Linked DNA regions of Homo sapiens: region 1 is linked to region 2. The links are contacts of gene promoters, found by promoter capture Hi-C in human tissues and cell types (Jung and others, 2019). All regions are on one chromosome and are shown on one strand. Each heading gives the region's core, a stretch centred on a gene start or on the middle of the fragment in contact. The rest is flanking DNA. Distances are from core to core; before and after follow the strand shown. Region 1 overlaps MIR3936HG (MIR3936 host gene). Region 2 holds the start of LEAP2 (liver enriched antimicrobial peptide 2).

Evidence for each region. The method cuts DNA at HindIII sites, captures the fragments that hold promoters and counts their contacts. A contact is called where the count stands out against the background at its distance.
Region 1: a fragment that was not itself captured here is called in contact with the fragment with the promoter of LEAP2 in region 2 in 2 of the 25 tissues and cell types used here (mesenchymal stem cells and spleen).

The regions. Positions count from the first base shown.
Region 1 is chr5:132,349,034-132,352,884 of GRCh38, reverse strand. MIR3936HG (MIR3936 host gene) reads left to right here. Exons shown (of 8, transcript NR_110997.1): 5 at 2,928-3,070. Among named protein-coding and RNA genes, the nearest start is that of MIR3936, 15 kb to the left of the region's middle. The HindIII fragment of the contact is 5,583 bases long and covers 1-3,851 here.
Region 2 is chr5:132,871,452-132,874,968 of GRCh38, reverse strand. It overlaps LEAP2 (liver enriched antimicrobial peptide 2), which reads right to left and starts at 1,301. Exons shown (of 3, transcript NM_052971.3): 1 at 1,218-1,301; 2 at 880-1,019; 3 at 1-559. The coding sequence starts at 1,274. The coding sequence ends at 523. The HindIII fragment of the contact is 2,304 bases long and covers 1,296-3,517 here.

The DNA of each region.
Region 1 (3,851 bases), core at 558-3,057, 520 kb after region 2:
AAATTATGGCAAAAGATTTTATTGACAGATTGGATGTGGAGTACAAGAGGAAGAGCAGCCAGGAAAATAAAGTTTCCATTTACTGAGTTGGGGAGGACTTCAGGAAGAGCAGATTTGGGATGAAATTAGGAGCACATGTTAAATTTGACATGTTATGTTTGAGACACCTATTATATATCCAAGTGAGGATATCAAGTGGGCAGTTATTATGTGAGCCTGGAGTTCACTCTCTCTATGTGTTGGTGGTCATCAGTGCAGAGATGATATTTAAATCATGAGACTGGATTTTTTAAAAAGGAAGAGGACTGAAGACTAAGTTCTGGGCACTCCAATTTTGGGCAGTAGCGGAGATGAAGAAAAACCAGCACACTAGATGGTAAAGGAGCAGCCAACAAGGTAAGAGGAAAACCAAGCAAGTGTCATTTTTGTTGATTTTTTTGATACAGAGTCTCACTCTGTCACTCAGGCTGGAGTGCAATGACACAATCTCGGCTCACTATAACCTCTGCCTTCTGGGTCCAAGTGTTTTTCTTGCCTCAGCTTCCCAAGTAGCTGGGACTGCAGGTGTGTGCCACCACGCCTGGCGCAAGTGTCATGTAGAAAGCAGTTCAAGGATGAAAGAGAAATGAGTTTGTCAAATGCCTTGAGAGGTCAGGTAAGATGATGACTGTGAATTGACTATTGAATTCAGAAACATGCAGGTCACTGCGGACCTTGATAGAGGTGCTCTGGTGAAAGGTGAGGGCTAAAGCTTAATTGTAGTGGGGCCAAGTGAAAATTGGAAGAACAAAGTTGAAAGTAGCAAGTAGATATAGCAATCTTCCAAGGAGTTTCACTGCTAAGGGACAGGGAGAAATGGGGCAGGAGCTGACAGCAGAAACTGGGTCAAGAGAGAGCTTTTACAGCCTCTTTGCATACTGAATGGGAAAGATCCAGTAGAGAGGGAAAAGATTTATGATGGGGGAGTCAGGAGAATTGCTAGAGCAACATGTGCTCCTAATTTCATCCCAAATCTGCTCTTCCTGAAGTCCTCCCCAACTCAGTAAATGGAAACTTTATTTTCCTGGCTGCTCTTCCTCTCGTACTCCACATCCAATCTGTCAATAAAGTCTTTTGCCATAATTTCAACATATGTAGAATCCAGTTTCTTGCCTGTATTCTGTTAGCCCCCAGCCAATCCTTCTTCATTAAGGCTGCTCCTACGCCCCTTCAATCTACTCTCAGCATAGTAGTCAGGGCTATCTCAATTACATCATGTTACTTTTCTGCTGTTGGTAAGGGAGTAGGGGGTGGGGGAGGGGTAAGAAGTATATAAGGCTGGGGCCGGGCACAGTGGCTCACACCTATAATCCCAGCACTTTGGGAGGCTGAGGCAGGCCAATCACTTGAGCCCAGGAGTTCAGTACTAGCCTAGCCAACATGGCAAAACCCTGTCTCTACTAAAAATACAAAAATTAGCTGGGTATGGTGGTGCATGCCTGTAATCCTAGCTACTTCGGAGGCTGAGGCATGAGAATCGTTTGAACCTGGGAGGCAGAGGTTGCAGTGAGCCACTGCACTCCAGCGGGGAGGAGAGACCATTCAGGAGAAACGGGAGAAAAGACAGAGGGTGTGGGTACAGATGGAGTTAGGCTGGTGGATTATGCTGCTTGTAGAGGTTCTCTCCATTGCTTCTATTTTCTAGGTGAAATAGGAAGCCAAGGCACAGCTGAGGGTGATCATGGGGGAGGAGGTGATGGAGTTCTGAAGAGAAAGAAGGTCTTCCAGGATAGAGAATGAACCAGGGCAATTAGGATCCTCTTGAAGTCACTGATGGTCAGTTTAAAGTGAAACCAGTCAGATGGAATATATTTTCCATCTACATTTGGCTATGCAGGTGCTAGCAAGAAGTAGGAGGGAGGTTAGATTTAACCAGCTTTATAGTTTCCCACAAAAGCAAGGCAGATAAGAAAGGGGCAAGGAAGATGATTATGATGATTAAGCATGGAATTTAAGCTGGCCAAGAAGGGGTGTGAGGACATGAGTAAGATGAGAGATAGCAAAAACGTGGACATCTTTGCCAGGTATGGAGCCAAACACAGTATGCATTGTCTCATGTAATCCCCACCCAAATGGAATTGTTATCATCCCTCTTTACAGATGAAGAAGCTGAGTTTTAGGGAAGACTGTAACTTGCTCAAAGTCACACAGCTGATAGAGAAGTGACACACCCAGCATCAGGTCCTGGAACACTTGTCTCCAAAGGCTATGTACTTAGCCCTATTTGCTTTAACTGGAGTATTAGTGGGCATTACAAAAATTGATGCATATGTACAAAGGATGGTAATTTTGTCCAGTATGTTTTTGTTAATACTTTTCCAACTTGAGTTAATTTTAAGATTTTCTGTTGTACAGAATTCTTTAAAAGTTTATAGTAAAATCTATTTATCTTCAATTTCCTATTCATCTTAAAATTAAATGTCACCTATATTTTCTTCTAGCTTTTGATTTATTTACTCTTGGCTCTATTTTATTTACATTTATTACATTTGGCTCTTTAGTTGATCAGGAATTAATTTGGTATGTGGTTTATGGTGGGATACTATTTATTCCCCCAGTTTTTCCATTTTTACCAGTTCTTCAGCTTGTCGATTGTCCCAGCACCAGTCTTCAACAATGTATCATTTTCTTGATAATTTATAATTCATCTTTATCATATGTTACAATTTTTCAACACTTGGGTCTGTTTCTGTGATACCTCTTCTATTTCGTTGATTGATTTATCTTTTGTGTGTGTGTCTGTGTGTGTGTGTGTGTGTTTGTGTGTTTTCCAGGAAACCCAGAGTAGTGTAGTCATTGTGTGTTTTTATATATGTAAGAGAACATTTCCCCTTATCAATGATCTTTTTCAAAAATTTCTTAAACATATTACATATTTCTTTTTTCAGATGCTCTTTACAAATATTTTTTAACTTCTTAAAATATCTCATTGAGGATTCCGTTCCAAGATGGCCAAATAGGAACAGCTCTGGTCTGCAGCTCCCAGTGTGATCGACGCAGAAGACGGATGATTTCTGCATTTCCAACTGAGGTACCTGGTTCATCTTACTAGGACTGGTTGGACAGTGGGTGCAGCCCACGGAGGGTGAGCCGAAGCAGGGCAGGGCATCGCCTCACCTGGGAAGCGCAAGGAGTCAGGGGATTTCCTTTTCCTAGCCAAGGGAAGCCGTGACAGATGGTACCTGGAAAAACGGGACACTCCTGCCCAAATACTGCGCTTTTCCAAAGTCTTAGCAAATGGCACACCAGGAGATTATATCCTGTGCCTGGCTCGACAGATCCTATGTCCATGGAGCCTTGCTCACTGCTAGTGCAACAGTCTGAGATTGACCTGCAAGGCAGCAACCTGGCATGGGGAGGGGCATCCGCCATTGCTGAGGCTTGAGTAGGTAAATAAAGTGGCTGTGGAAGCTCGAACTGGGTGGAGCCCACCACAGCTCAGCAAGGCTGACTGCCTCTGTAGTCTCCACCTCTGGGGCAGGGCATAGCTGAACAAAAAGCAGCAGAAACTTCTGCAGACTTAAACATCCCTGTCTGACAGCTCTGAAGAGAGCAGTGGTTCTCCCAGGATGGTGTTTTAGCTTGGAGAACAGACAGACTGCCTCCTCAAGTGGGTCCCTGACCCCCATGTAGCCTAACTGGGAGACACCTCCCAGTAGCCGACTGACACCTCATACAGGCAGGTGCCCCTCTGGGATGAAGCTTCCAGAGGAAGGATCACTCAGCAATATTTGCTGTTCTGCAATATTTGCTGTTCTGCAGCCTCTGATGGTGATACCCAGGCAAACAGGTCTGGAGTAGACCTCCAGCAA
Region 2 (3,517 bases), core at 52-2,551:
ACCTCCACCTCCCAGGTTCAAGTGATTCTCCTGCCTCAGCCTCCCAAGCTTGACCACCTTTGACACCTCCCTGAAGAGTATGGAGTGAAGGGATCCAGGGCCACAGCTTAGGAACTTGCTGAAGTTGATTACGTAGCTATTGATTATGTAGCTCTCACTACACTTTCCAGATTGAGAAGTTAACACATTATTGGGCAATGCTGTTTTTTTCTTTAGTATACAAAATGAATCCTTCTTTCCCTCAAAAGCTTGAATTCCAGACTGCTAAAATTTCAATTTGAGACATTTAATAGTATCCATAGAAAAATAAACTCTAAATTGACAAGTTTAGTTATGCTTATCCATATATCAACATTCTAAGAAGAAATGGAGACCAATTTAAAGCGTACATCTGCCTTTAAATATTAAAAATACAAGATTGCTTCACTTGGGTGTCTCCAGCCAAAATGCAGTTAATCAATATTCCATAGAACGGAGCATTGTCGGAGGTGACTGCTGTCCTTTCTTTCCCTGGTATGTACATCATTCCTGGGCCACACTTAAGGAACAGCGTCTTTTTCTAGGGGAAAAGAAAGGGTAGTTTTTTAAGACTGGGTCTAGGAATGACCAGGGCCACCTATGCTGCATTTCCTTCCTCTTTGCTTGATCTGTCCAGTCTCAGGAAAGACTGAAGAATGGAAAGGCACCACTCTTTCATGGTACCCACATAGAGCTGTTCTTGGCTCCTAACTCCTAAGGGATTTTCCATGGAGCTCCCAGTCTCAGTCTAGAACTCCTCCATCCCAGCTTTATTCTTAGGTTCATGTGTCCCCTTGTCACTCCTCTGCCCAGCTTCCCAGGGCTCTCTGGCCCAACCCTGCTCCCAGGTTCAGGGAGTACCTGCATAGCCTTGTGATACACTCAGAATCATCCCGGCAGGAGGCTCCAATAGGCCTGAGGGAAACCCCTCTCCAAAATGGGGTCATTCTCCGTGGCCTTCTCTTTGCCGAACTCACTTCTGGTATTGGGGAGCCATCTATCTGTAAGGGCAAAGACATTCAGATATGAAAGTGTTGACACCCTGCTGCACACCTTGGAAGAGTGATCATTCCATTCCGCAGATGCTGTAGACTCAGAACAGAGGAACCATTCCTCAGGACTGAATCTAGCTTTCAAGTTCCACCACCACTATCATCTCCACACTCCACACACACACATAAGTATCCTTCCCTCCTTACCTGGCCCAACAGCAACAGGAAGATCATGAGGACTGCACAAAGTTTGAGGTGCCACATCTTGACAGGGGGAGGATGTTGGAGCCTGAAAGCCAGGGACAGTTCCTACTTCCTTTTATAGACTGACATCAACTCTTGCATTGTTACTGGGTGAGATGGGGGCAAAGTTTATATTTGTAATCAGAATCAATTTAATAAGTTAATGTCTACCGGAGGAATGTGCTCAAGGGCCACCTTTCAGGCACGTTGTATTTACTGATCCCTCATCTGGACTTTGAGTGATTGTGTTGCTGGCATGGACCCTTTCGCCCATTTTACCAAAAGTCAGCACTGCCCTTCCTTCCCTTTGAAAGCCACGTGAAACCATTGAGGGAGGTCAGGCAACTAGCCACATTTCTATTCCAAAATAGCTCAGTGAGATCACTCCCATAGAATTCCAATAATGAAGTCTTCAGAAATAATGTTGGCCCCTTTCAGCCTTGTCTAGGAAAGAAGCACTGATCTATTGTGTACAGCCAATTGGATAAGGCCCTTATCTCCTTTCTGTGGGAGGATGCTTCAGCAAGGCCTACAGTTCCCCAGATCGTCCACTTGCTTAGATGGACTGTCACCCTAATCTGCACCTCTTTATCTCACTAGTAAAATGAAGACCCAGCTGTGGAAAGTTCAAAGTCTGGCCTCCTGCCCTCTCAGGGGAATGGCTGGATGTGAGACTTATTTGGACCACAGGTGAATTGAATAATTATAGGTTTCTTTTTGTTTTTAAGCACATGTAGATGAGGAGGTAACAAGATCTCCTAAATCAGAGGGAGAGCTTGTGTAGTGACTGTATTAAAAGCCTTGAATTATGGGCTTTCTTCCCAGTAGTTGAGTGGGGCCTTTCCTTCCGGCAGCTTCAGGGCAACAGGCATAGGGATGAGATACCTCCAAAGCCCAAAGCATCCATCAGTTTAAGTAGGAACTGCTGCAGATTTCTAGACCAAGGGAGGACATGTATCTAAACGATGGGTAGTTATGGGTACTCGTGAAATGACATGGGCATTTTAAGTTTGAGGGGAAAGCTGTGAATTCTGAGTAAGGAGACTGATTGGACTTTAGATCTTCCTATGACCTGGGAGGATAATAAGCTTAAGACAAAGACAACAAATTCTTTCTGCCGGGCATCATACTGAAAACTTGGCTAATACCTCTTCCCAAGGGCCGTCTCATCTTCACAGGTTGGGTATTTGGATAAGAACCTGCTTGTTCCTTTACTCCAGGAAAACGTGGAGGAGATGCACAACAGCTGAAGGTAGAAAAGGATGGCCACTGACCCTGCTGCCAGTCAGACAGAGGGAGCTTCTTGCCAAGGGAGAAGCAGATGGTTTGATGGACCTCAGAGCTGGAATTGGGCAGGATGTGACCACAGATCTGACTGTCCTGATTCTAGTCCTCTCAGAATCATGGAGCCAGGCCTTGAGGGGGATGCCACTGCATGCACTTTAGGAACATTGAGAAGAGACCTATATACCAACGAACCAGTTGAGACTAGTTCTCTGCTCCCTCCCTTCACCCCTAAGCTTGGATACTGGATGATCCCAGACAGGTGCCTAAACTGGGAACTTTTGCTGGGAGGGGAAGTGGCTATGTGGGTGACCTAGTGAGCACTGGGTAAGAACACAAATGATTAGATAAGCAAAGGACTGAACAACGTGATGTCCTAGAGCCAGTTGGGTCTGTGGCCTCAGTGTCAGCCTCCCCTTTACCAGTCTAGAGTGATGTGCCAAATGGGATTTGGAAACTGTTCATCCAAAAGATGAGTAATTCTCCTAATCCTCCATTTCTGCCTTCCTGTACTTCTAGCAGGATCAAACTAGCATGGTGTTAATTTGTAAAGCTGATAACACAGTCAAGGAAAGAAAGAGCTTGAAGCCCTTGCCCCTCTGTGTGTAGGCGGAAAGGACCATTCATCCTCATGAGTGTGACAACATTGCAGAGGCCTTTGGTTCAAGCCTCTATGTTGTATGCCACCCTCTCCCCAAAAGAAAAAACCATTAGTCACTGTCTGTGGAAGGAACCACTGTTGGGGAAGGGGAAAGTATTTTAACATGTCTACGTGAATGCTAGTTGTTTTAGTTAAGTATGGAGCAAAAATCAAACTCAAAGCAACATCCAGGCAGCAGTTAGCTGAATTGGCAGTATTTGTCCACAGCCATCCCATACTTGAGAGACTGTGAAGGCCTCTTCTTGAAATTAAAAAAAAAAAAATTTCATGGATTCTACAATCAAGTATTTTGCTCAGTGAATATACACGTAACTGCATG